Linked DNA regions of Homo sapiens: region 2 is linked to region 1. Evidence: promoter capture Hi-C in 16 types of primary human blood cells and fetal thymus (Javierre and others, 2016). All regions are on one chromosome and are shown on one strand. The core of a region is centred on a gene start or on the middle of the fragment in contact, and the rest is flanking DNA. Distances in the headings are between cores, read along the strand shown. Region 1 holds the start of ZC3H15 (zinc finger CCCH-type containing 15). Region 2 holds the start of PRKRA (protein activator of interferon induced protein kinase EIF2AK2).

The links. Contacts are between HindIII fragments. The CHiCAGO score rates a contact against its expected background, and 5 or more counts as called.
Region 2: a contact is called between the fragment with the promoter of PRKRA here and the fragment with the promoter of ZC3H15 in region 1, in 2 of 17 cell types (total B cells and activated CD4 T cells). The highest score is 8.3, in total B cells.

What each region holds. Positions count from the first base shown.
Region 1 is chr2:186,483,056-186,489,058 of GRCh38, forward strand. It overlaps ZC3H15 (zinc finger CCCH-type containing 15), which reads left to right and starts at 3,205. Exons shown (of 10, transcript NM_018471.3): 1 at 3,205-3,402. The coding sequence starts at 3,328. It overlaps LOC105373785 (a long non-coding RNA gene), which reads right to left and starts at 2,945. Exons shown (of 2, transcript XR_001739147.3): 1 at 2,745-2,945. It also overlaps the pseudogene DPRXP1. RefSeq lists an enhancer at 2,835-3,314. The HindIII fragment of the contact is 12,604 bases long and covers 1-6,003 here.
Region 2 is chr2:178,446,960-178,453,223 of GRCh38, forward strand. PRKRA (protein activator of interferon induced protein kinase EIF2AK2) reads right to left here and starts at 4,216. Exons shown (of 8, transcript NM_003690.5): 1 at 4,007-4,216; 2 at 3,283-3,452; 3 at 546-627. The coding sequence starts at 4,071. It overlaps PJVK (pejvakin), which reads left to right and starts at 4,419. Exons shown (of 7, transcript NM_001042702.5): 1 at 4,419-4,810. RefSeq lists an enhancer at 3,372-3,946 and a silencer at 3,709-4,488. The HindIII fragment of the contact is 1,572 bases long and covers 3,077-4,648 here.

The DNA.
Region 1 (6,003 bases), core at 1,955-4,454:
GCCATAATAACTATTATCATAATGGTACCAAGAAATATTTCAAATAGAAACAGAGAATTCACCCACTTAAGTCACCTACTTTAAGAAAATTTTACATCAGTGTAGGCTGGAGTGAAAGTTTACAGTATTGAAATTCAAACTGACAAGGTAAAAGACATTTTATATGCTTTACTGAAACACTAGCAAATCTTTTGTAATATCTTAATTCAGAGGGAAAAAAGTCTTAAAGGAGACTGACTATATGTCAGAATTTTGAAGCATTCACTATTTAAATCAAAATACTTCCTAATATGTACTGCCTTAACCCATAAAACAGATCAGCAATTTATATGGCCAAATGAGTCCTATCTTTATGACAAAAATTTACTTAGATAAACTAGTAGTCTTGTCTCTGCCCACCACCCCATAGCACAGTTTGGTCTATTATCAATCAGAGTCTGTCTTAGTTTACTAGGGCTGCAATAACAAAGTACCACAGACTGGGTGGCTTAAAAAACAGAAATTTATTTTCTCATAGTTTTGGGTGCTAGTAGGCTGAGATCAAGGTGTCAGCATGTTTGGTTTCTTCCAAGGCTTCTCTCTTGGCTTGCAGATGGCCACCTTCTAGCTATGTCTTCAAATATGTTTATGGAAATATTGTTCACAGAATCTATAGGAAGCCTGGAAAATCAGGCTTGGGAAATAAAAGAAGCAAGAAATAATAGCAAAGAATGAAGTAAGGACTTGTATGGATCTTGCCACACTGGCCTGCCGCCACTGGACTGGTAATACCATACATGCACTCTAATGCCCTGAAAAATTCCTACACTTTGAGTCTTTGTCTTGTTTTCTTGAGATTAAAAGCCTGAGACATAGGGCTTCCTTCCTATACAGAAGGACATTAGAATGCTGGATAGCAAACAATAATTTCTATTCAGTACAAAATCTACTGCCTTAATCTATTACATCTGATACATTCCAATAAATGTAAAGTTATCCAAATGGCTATATCCAAGGCAGTAAATTCACAGCCTGTCTACCAAATCGAAGCAGTCAGGTTTGACAGTTTTTCTTTTAGTTCTTTTACGGTGGGCATTTACCTCAGGTTTAACACTGTTCCCACAACTTCCTAATGTATTTCACTCATCCTGACGCTCAAGTTTATAGCCCTGCTTTCTTGGGTATATGAATTGTAACCCTTGGACTATGCCTTCTAAGCACTGTTTTGTGAAAGTTTCGTTTGAATTGTAAGGTCAATAAAAATAGCAGTAGAAGACATAAAAGTCCCAGCCCTGCTACCATTTGCTATTTGAGACCAGGAAAAACCATGTACCTTATTTCAAAAAGTAGTGAATTCAATGAGTTGGACTTCCTTATTTCTAAAATGTATGAAGAAATAGTGTACGAGGGAGAGTGCTATAAGAGCATGTACTATATTCAGAAATGTGTATTTTCCACTTGAGGCAAGAAAGGATCTTTGTTCTCTACCTGGGCTACACTTCAGAGGAAAAAACCGAAAGCAAAGGTCAGGAGACAGAAGAAGTTATGAACCATGAAACTGGAGCCATTATCATAACATTATGAGACTCTAGATTCTTTGTAACTTCCCCATATTTGTTACTTATAATTCATTTGCCTCATAATAATAATCAGTAAAATTACTCAAAATCAAAGGCCCAAAGGGCATCTTTGGGGCACTAAAAGTAGGAAGTTAAGACAACTACATTCCATATGCAAACAAAGTCTCAAAGGAGACGATCCCCAAATAATCAAATGGATAATAATACTGAGTAAAGAGGGGGCTGGCTGCATCCCTCCATCCTCTGACAAGAACTATGACAATTACAAAAAATAAAGATGAAAATATGTAAAAGGGGGGGAGCCCATTAACCTGCCAATATGAGCCCAAATGAAAAAAAGTGTGTCAACATACACCTGCCATTCTCGACACAATTCTTTTTAGTAGCTATCACATTTCTTCTACACACACACATACACACACAAAACATACTTGGGGTTCCTTGACATTATCTTACGTAGAAAATTACTAAGCAAATAATCAATTTGACTAAGTAGGGGGGCTTATCGTTTTCTCCCTATTCAAATTAATGAAAAAGATAAAAAAACTTTTATCTATAAAGATGATTCTTGGTTCCACAATGCTTCTTAACAGAAATAGTTTAAACAATAATCATTTTAAAAAATAACAGCTAAGCATTGTACATTTTTAAAAAATAGTATTTTCGTTTGTACAAATATCAATGGGTCCCATTCATCATTCAAGTACCTTTTCAAACAGGATCTAAGTTTGTAATGTTAGGTAATAGGCATATAGGCTGAAGCCGGACTGCCAAGATTACAATTGCTGGCTCTGTCCTTAATATAACTTTGGGCATCTTTCTTCCTTTCTCTGCTTCATCTATAAAACGAAAACAGTAACAACTCCCACCTAAGTGTCGTTGTGATAACTAAATGAAATAGTGTGTGTAATGTGCCAAGGAATTTCTGGAGCTACCAAGCACTTAAACTAAGTTCTAACTAAGTTTGGTTACTTTCACGTTATAAAGGAATTTTTAGGAATCACCTAGGCACTCTCCTAAAGTCTCAAAATAACTTAATACAGTACTTCTAAGGAGTTCAAGTGCCTCCTTATCTGGGACGCCATCTCAGATGCTCTTCAAATGAAAGGGACCCTGCAAATGAAAGTTAACTTTTTCCATTTTTTAAATAATCCTTCGCAGGAATCTGAAGCACGCGACACTCACGGGCCATTCAGCTCCGCCTCTCCAGGGAACAAGAAGGTTAACTGAGTAACGTGGTCACGGAGCAACCCCGAGTCGCTGCGGCTGCTTAGTAGTCACTCAGGATGGGGATGGTACAGGGGACCATTAACTGGCCCGGCAGGAAAAGTTTCCCGGTGAGGTGACGATGGACAAGAGTCGCCCCATCGTAAGCGAAAGTGGACTGAGAGGAAGCACAAACGCATGGACTCAACCAGCTCGCCCAGATTCACCCTCAGGCCTTTTGCCATCTGAAAAGGGCCTATCGGATGCGCGACATCACGAGTGACGCGTAGTCATTTTCCCACGTCCCGTCCCTGCCCCCTCCTAGTGGGACGCAGTGGGCGCGCACGCGCAGCTCCGCTTCCGGGAGCCGCTCCTCGCTACCCACTATGCTCTGCGACATCGACCTGTCGCAAAGGCCGCGTTTGCGGGGCCAATGAGCGACTCGCTTTCCGTGCGGTGCGGCGAGTGAGGCCCCGGTCTTCCTCCTCGTCCTGCCGCAGGGCCAGAACCCCTGACGGTATTCAGCTGCGCGTAAGTCTGGCCGGTGCCATCTGTCTCCGCAATGCCCCCCAAGAAACAGGCTCAGGCCGGGGGCAGCAAAAAGGCGGAGCAAAAAAAGAAGGAGAAGATTATCGAAGTGAGTACCCACCCCTCCCCCACTCACGCCGCGAGCCCTCCGGAAAGCCACTTCCCCGCTCCGGGCTTCCCTGGGAGCCGGCTCGCTTCCTCGGGCCACGTGTTCCTCCCTTAGGCCTGTGTGGCCCACTGCCCCTTCTCCAGCCCCTGATGACGCTAGCTCTCTCATTACTATAGTGACGCTGCTGGCGCCCCCGCACCTGGGCTTTGCCTCTCCGCCCACACGCCCGTGTTCACCCACCCATGCACCCGGGTGCGAAATGACCCCTCGGGACTGGCACAGGGTTTTATCCTTCGCTAGTCCTCTCAGAATTGAGGAGATTTTCCAAGGTTATGTGTGAAGAAATACGCTGAACGGTCTCGGGCCAGCGTCTTTCTGGAAGACCGACTCATGACGAGTCTTTGTGTTCGTTATTTCTTTACCCGTCACCCAGGGATGGTACTGTTAGTTCTTTTGAACCAACAAATTACGACTTGGTGGCTTTTTCGATCCACCTCTGAAATGTTTAAAGTCCCATAAAGAATGGAAGGACTTTCCGTCACAACCCAGGGTCTTGAACGCAGAGCTTGGTACTTACATTCTGAAGTGGATTAAATAGGATAACGCCTTAAAAGAGATTAGGTTTCAGTGTCACTAATTGTGTGAAGTCCCGTAACCCAGTTTGAGATATATGTGTGTGTGTGCGCGTGTATATATGTATACATCTATGTGTGTGTATATGTGTATATATGTGTGTGTATATATATTCGTTTAACACATTGAGCCTGTAGCCCTTTAATGGCCAAGGAACGCTATTGACGTTCTTACATGTTGTGCACTTGTTTTCCAACAACTGAATTGAGTTTCCTTAAAAGATGAACCATATTTGACATTACGTAAACATACCATACAGACCCCAACGAGGTATTTCTTCCCTCGATTTCTGCTATTAATCCTCCTCATAATTAAATAGGACCTCTTGTACTTTGGATATAATTAGAAAAAGCCATGACCATTTTACCGCATAAGGTGTAAAGTCTGCTCATTGGATTTAAGAAAATGCTTAAGAATTTTGCTATACTTGGCCAGGTTCCAACTTTGGAGGAGAACTGGTATTCTTATTGCCAATTTGTACAGTTTAAAACTGTCATGAAGTACTATAGCCAGACACTTAAAAACAAAATATTACCTTCACATCTGTGTTTTCTATTACCTTATTTGAACAATCTGGATTCGTGGCACTTAGGTAAATTTCAGGGGTTGCTGATCGGATGGCATTCACTTTTATGAAAACCAAGGACATTTTAGGGATGTCGTTTTCCTCGAGATTGGACCCTGATACGAAGTAAAACTCCCATTGAAATTAAATGTTATGTAATAATTTAGACAATTTAAATTATACTTCATGCATTGTAGAGCTTTCTCTATATCTAATTGTTTTATTTTTAATTAGTAGGACTAGTATTCTTATTTTAAGGAATTATGTGTGAAAGTTGTTTATAGTATCCATCAACTTTTAAAATGATGCATATGTTATGATTCTAGTCATCTTGTGACGAAATTATTTTTTAGCTAAAGAGAAAGCAATTTTAGTTTCAATAATGAAGGTATCTCCAAAGAAAAATGCAAAATAAGACAACTGCACTTTTTAACTAAAAATATTAACAACAACAAAGTGGTGAAATTAAGCCCGATTTTGTGTTTTCTACATTTAATATATATTATTTTTTTAATTTATTTTTTGTTGAGGTATAACTTATGTAAAATAAAATGTACAGGTTCTAGATGTATAGTTCTATGTGTTTTGAGGAATTTATTCACCCAGGTAGCTGCCACCCTAATTAAGACTTGAAACATTTCTATCACCCCACTAAATTTGTTTTGTGCCTCTTTCTATTTAATTCTTTCCACACGTGCAGCCACTAATTTTTTTGACAGGATAGATTAGTTTTTACCACTCTAGGAACTCATATAAATTATACAGTAGGTAGCCTTTGTGTCCTTCTTCTTGCTTTCACACCATGCAGTGTTTTTGAGATCCATGCATGTTGTGTATATTTCTAGTATGTTCCTTATTGCTGAAAAGTATTCTCTTGTATGGGAACCATTACAATATGTCACCTTTTGTGTTTAGTGTCTCTCTCTACTTGGAGGAACCAAAAGACGTTATAATTGACGCTTGAAAAACAAACTTAGGATTCCAAAATGGGTTAGAGGCGGTGTTTGTTAAAATCTCGGCAGCCAGAATGGATTATTTTGTGGCTAATGGAGTCATCTGTAGGGACCTTAACCTTGGGGCATACGCTGAGTTGGCATGAGAGTGTCCAATCATCTGTATACATTAGAGCTACAGGATAGGCATCATTAGGGGATCTGGGTGGTGTGTCTATTTCTCTGGGAAGGACTGGTCTTGACTACACCCTCAGTTAATTGCAGTTGTTGAGCTTCTTGCTTTTGCTGAATATGCTTGCATTTTGCTTTCTTGTGTTTTGTGCTATCATTCTTTAACCTAACCTGCAGTACCGTTGGATGTATGTCTTTGAGGCCATTTCTTTCTGAAGACTGAGGTTTGGGTATGGGTTCTTAGTGAACAAGATGTTCAAATATTCCATTTGTTTCTCA
Region 2 (6,264 bases), core at 2,966-5,465, 8.0 Mb before region 1:
TCCAGACTGGGCGACAGAGCGAGACTCCGTCTCAAAAAAAAAAAAAAAAAAAAAAAAATCTTACTTTAGAAAGATATGTCAAGAATTAATATCCCACTTAACATTCTCTTCTTTTGGTATACATTATATAATAAAAGAAAACCTCTGCCTGCTTCTTCAAAATTAGAATTCCCAAAAGAGTACTTTTAGTGGATCTTTCTCCATCTCACACTTTGTTTTCTTCAATGTAGAAATAATCAAAGTCTAAATACAAAATGTTAATATTAATATTTGCAAGAAGCACTGATTTTCTACTGTTGTATCCCATTAAAAAAAAAAAAACAGTAAAGCCTAGTTCATGAGCACCTTCATTTAATAGCTAATTGCTGGATTTGATTGGATAAAGTTTTCTTTAATGGATGATAAGTTTTCATAAGGAAATAGAATTTGAGAGGTAGGATGCTAACAACTGTTCACTTTGTTGCTTTTGTAAGCATGTTCAAATTTTTAATCTTACCTCAGCCATGATATTTTTGAGCTGCTGAATACAAAGAAATTTAGCTCACCAAATACTTGCATTGGCTTTCAAAATGTTTATGGCAGCCTCTGCAGCTCTATGTTTCGCCAGCTTCTTACTTGTACCTTCACCTGAATTAAGATTTAAAAAAAGAAGTCTTTATCTCCCACAAAAATGTGCAGCTTACAAAGATGTTTTCAATACACAAAACAAAGTCACTATAGATTTTACATACACATACTAGGTAATAAAAATATGTACGTTATATACTGTACATAAAAATATGTACATGTTATATACTACATGGTTATATACTGTAATAAAATATTCACCATGTGAAAAAATTTTAAAAAATAACTTTTTAAAGTTCTATATAATTCTATGCATACCTGCATAAAAATCCTTATTTCTACATTATATATGTTTATTATATAACATGGTAATAAAGTAGACCGTGTCACACCTCTGAAGAAATGCAGATTAGTATTTTACTCTTCCTTTATTCCTGGAGGGGAAATTCTTCTGCAGCAAGAAGTTTCTTTTAAAGGAACCATTTACAGCAGAATTGTTTGATAGCAAAATGTGCATAATTTTATTCTGACAGCCTGTCCTATAACGTATCAAACTGCTTTGCTAGGCTGAGCAGTCATGATTATGTGTTGGGTACAACAGGAAAGAGTTTTATGGAATAAGGTGACAGCTTGTTATGTATCTTCTGGACGGTCTGTATCTTCTGCATGGGTAGCTAAGTTGGGACTGGGGATAAGACTGATGTCTAATTTCAGTAAGCAATCACAATGGCAAATGATAAATTCCATCTTTTTCCTTTTAAGTTCAAACTCCCATACCCTCATGGAATAAGTTTCAAGTGTGGCCTTCAAGTGTGGCCCTCAAGTGTAAGAAGACACAGAAACCATATATTTATCTGCTAACACAGGTATTAGGGATATAGCATACAGGGTCCCTGCCCTCAAGAGCCAACAGAGTAGTGTGGGATTTTTGTCTGTTAATAGGCACCTGAAGTATGGAATGGGATATGTTACAACAAGCCTAAGTGCAGGCTGTAGCGGAGGTTGCAGTGAGCCAAGATCATGCCACTGCACTCTAGCCTGGGTGACAGAGTGAGACCCTGTCTCAAAAAAAAAAGAATGAACACTGGTTGTAATGTGACAAAAGGACATCACAAGACTAGAAGGTAAACGTGTAGCTACAAGACTGCAGCTACAATCCAAGTGAGAGATGATGGTGGCCTAGGCAGTAGCAATGGCCAGAAGAGAGAAGCCGACAGATTCAATGGATAGTTAGTGGATTATTAAACGCCAATGGATAGAGTTTAATAACAGACTGGACAAGAGGGAGAAAGACGGGAAGTAGTTAGGAAGACAAAAGCCTACATTTCTACTGAACTAGGTGATTGTGGAGCCTTTACATAGAAAGGGAATGCAAGAAGAATGGGTTTGAGGGAAAAGATGGATTCAGTTTGGGACAATGAGAGGCTTGAGGGGCCTCTGTGTCATCCAGGCAAAGATGCTCAGCAAGCACAGACTGATACACTATTCTGTAACTGGGCTTGGGATGTAGACAGACATTTCAGAATATTAGTCTTTAGACAGTATCAGAAGCCATGGAGGCAGATAAGCTTGCACAGGAAGCCATGGTAGTGTGAGAAGAGGGCGTAGGCAGAACGGTTGCCATAGGTTGTTAATTTGGGGTCTAAAACACATTGAGAGGGAAAAACCCTCCCTTTTCTTGAATTCTTCCTATCTAGAAATAGACTAGCTAAAGTAAGTAATGCAGTGTTGACTCTATGGTTCCCATGGGGACCCTTCCGGCCAGCACCTACAATCTAACTGCCTCACACAAAAAGTTTTAAACTTTTCTTAAAGTGGCATCAATTAAAATAAAAGACTCCAAACTTCCAGGGACACAAACAAATGCTGTCTTCAGATTTTCCAGATGGTAGAACTTGAGCCTTCCTACTAAATTTTTTTCTTGGCATTCTTCCAAATTAAATTTAGCATCCAATGTTTTCTGTGTTTGCAATTAAATAGATACATAAGAAAAATAATGTCCACATTTACAAATGAGCAACTTTAGTTATCATTTGCTCAAGCTCACAGACCAAAAGAAAGCATGAACTTTAAAATTTCATTGCTTTGTGACTTCATTGCTATACGCATGTTACTTATAATCTCTCTGAACCTGTTTCTTCTTGTTTAAAAAGTGGATAATATACAAAATATCTGTTCAGTTTCAAAAACTAGAAGTTATTATGTAATATATGAGGACCTTCTCCCCTTCCTCATTTTGTTTGGATACAGAATCAAAAGTAGCACAATGGACCTAAAGTGCCAAATGAGTCCATACAGAGAGGAGAGACGCTCAGAAAATTCTGGGGTCATGCCTCCTGGCATCCGCTATAATCTATGAAACTTCACAGTACCTACTGACCCAGCTATGACTGCTCCAAGAACCTTTCCTGCTTCCCTCTAATTCTAAGAAGAACCCTAGGAGGATCCTAGGGTATGAGAAGAGCCATGCAGGATCCAGCCATCCGGCTGGGTAACTTTTTAGTTTCTAAGCTTCCTTGGTATGTGGGGAAGAGAAAATTAGGAAGAGAATCAGATGCAGCTGAAAAGCCCTAACGACCTGAGATGAGAGGTCTCAGTTTCAGAGCCTGTTCCTCACAGCTGTCTGGCAAAAAGAGAACTTTTCCGAACTGAAAAGCAACACCAAGTATTGACTGCCAACCCACTCGGTCATCCAGGTTAACTGTGTATACAGACCTGTGCAGGTTATGTCACCAACGGTTACTCTGAAGGTGAAAGTGGGCACGTGTATTTGCACATCAGATCTTTCACATTCATAAACTGGGATGTTCTTGGTCTTCATGCCGTATTCGTGTAATACCTGAATCGGTGTTTTCCCTGGCTTAGCTGTTATCATCTTCCCCAAACTGCAAAAACCACAAAAAGGTGTGCTTTGCATGCCAAATTGGAGATTGAAGCAGAAGCGTAGAGGCCAGTTTTAACCGCCACCGACGGTGACGAGGGAGGCGCCGAGTTCCCCGGAGGCCAGGGCCAGAGCTGGCGAGGCTGGGGCGCACCTGTCTTCCGGCCCCGCTGCGGCAGTCACTCCGCAGGAGCAGGCGGGGTGAGCGAGGTCTTTAGAGAGAGCACTTGAATGCGGGTAGGAGAGATTCTCAACAGAACAGGGCTGGCAGCAGCGCCGCAGCCTCTCAGGGAAAACCTGACGATCCCTTCCCGGGCGCGCCGACCGAGCGTCACCTCCGCCCGCCCCGCGCGCCGCCAGGGACCACGAGAGGGGCGGGGCCCGGCCGCAGACCCCAACCCTCGCCGCCGAGAGGGCGGGGCCGAGCACCCACAGCCGCGGAGGCGTGGGCGCCGGGCACGGCTTTACCCAGAATGCCTCTGGAGGGCCGGCTCCCCGCGCCCCGGCCCTGCCGCCCAACGCTCCCGGCCCTGGGGCCCTGACTGCCCGCACGCTGACCTGAAGGTCCCACTGTCCTCGCGCTCCAGCGGCGGGGCCTCGGCGCGGTGCCTGCTCTGGGACATGGCGAGAAGGGACGGCTCAGCGGCTGGAGGAAGAGCGGTGCGGAGCGACGTGCTCGCTCCCCGGGTCGCTGGTCCCCGGGAGGAGCTCCAGCGCCGCCACCTCCTCCGACTCCCCCGCCTCCTGCTTGCGTTGCTCCAGCGAGGGGGCAGGCAGGGTGGGGGCGGAGCCTTGGTGCCGTAGCTCCGGCTACGCCCCCTCGCTGCTCCTCTGCGGGCCTCCGTCCCGGCCCAACTCCGCCCCTGTCCCTTCCAGGGTCCGCCCCCTTCCCGCCCGGCTCCGCCCCGCTCCCGCGTGGGCACAGGCATTGGGCTCCCGGGGGTTCTCCGCGCCCGCCCCTGCCGGCCCTGACCAGCCTGTAGTAACTGGCCCCTAGGCCGCAGTTCTTTGTCCTTAGCAGGAGGCCGTTTCTTGCCGGGAGAGAGGGATTAGAGGGATTGTCCGGCGTGGGTCTAGGGTCGTTGAGGCCTAAAGTTAAGCCTTTGTGGGGAGGACGGATTGGGGGCTGGGTCACTTTAAGAAAAAGATTCTAAAATTACGAAGGCAGAATTCCAGGGAGTCTCCCGGGCCTGGTCCTGAAGCTTGAGACCCCGGATATATACGCTCCAGGGGGCTGCGGTGCGCTCTTCGGGTCCCCGAGCCCTGTGTTTAGGAACACGCGGGGACGTCCAAACACCCGCTCCTCTCCCGCCGGGCGGGCTCCTTTGTCTTCTGGGCTTTCGTCGCGAGATGGAACGCTGGGTCAGTGCATCCCAGCAAAACACGTTAGGAGTAAACGAAGGCCTTTCCGGGGACCTGGGTAGTCGGTTGTAATGGCGTTTGCCTGGGATGCAGCACCTTTGGTGGGCCATTAGATGACGTGTCGCTTCTCCAGGGGCTTGCTAGGCACTAGCAGAAATGCTCCCCTGTGCTTACTCGGTGTTATGGAAGATTGCTTGCACAATGCTATTCGTACGAAAGGATATTATTAAAAGTGATTTATGGGCGGGCGCGGTGGCTCACGCCTGTAATCCCAGCACTTTAGGAGGCCGAGGCTGGCGGATCGCCTGAAGTAAGCAGTTCGAGACCAGCCTGGCCAACATGGTGAAACCCTGTCTCTACTAAAAATACAAAAATTAGCCGGGCGTGGTGGCATGCGCCTGTAATCCCAGCTACTCGGGAGGCTAAAGCAGGAGAATCGCTTGAACCCGGGAGGCAAATGTTGCAGTGAGCCGAGATCGCGCCACTGCACTCCAGCCTGGGCGACAGAGTCAGACTCCCTCTCAAAAAAAAAAAAAAAAAAAAAAGCGATTTGTTGTTTTGTTAGCATGTAAGCCCTGGATGCTTGAAACAAGTGAAAGATGTTCAGAATCTAATCAAATTATATCATCTGATGCTTTAATTAGAGCCTATTCTCTCTTCCTCTCCGTCTATATATGTATGTATATAGATTACTATCCATCACTGTTTTAATGGATATCTTATTGGAAGGGCTACATAGTCAGTATTTCACAATATATGAACTCCGCATAACACCTATGGCAAAACATTTCAGCACTCAGGTAAAATTCATTTTTTGCCACAAAATTACTTAAAAACAGGCCAGAACTTTATATAGCTCTTGTTAAAGGTTAAGTAGCTGGGATAATAATGAAACAAAAAGATGCAGCAGGACTCCATTTCAAAGAGAGAGAGTCTGTGTGCCCAACTTCAGAGTAAGAAACCACTAGGTAATAGTTTATATAGTTACTTATATGTAATGTGGCTTTATTTTTTAAATAAAGATTTGCATATAATTGTTTATATCTGTGAATTTATATTTAATATTAAACACAGTTTTGTAAGCATATAAGATGGAAAATGAATGAAATGCTCAATCAATGAGCTGTATGCCATGAGGATTCAAAACAGCACTTTGGTGTTGCCAAAATTCCGGTGGTGGACTTGTGAAGGAATTCCCTTTGGACTAGGTCCACTGTAGATTGTATCCGGGACTATCGTTAGTGCCTAAATTGCATTGCTTCCCACAGCACTATATGCTTCCCTTAAAATTGGCCCATTGCCAGTGGCAAATCACTATCTACTGTGATCCTTATCATAGACATTGGTCATATTTTTACGTTATTAGTTTTCTGTGTATATTTTAGTGCTATAGCCTGCCATTCCAAGTTAAACATGCTCTTAGCATATCATTTTACACCGTTGATCTATAATTC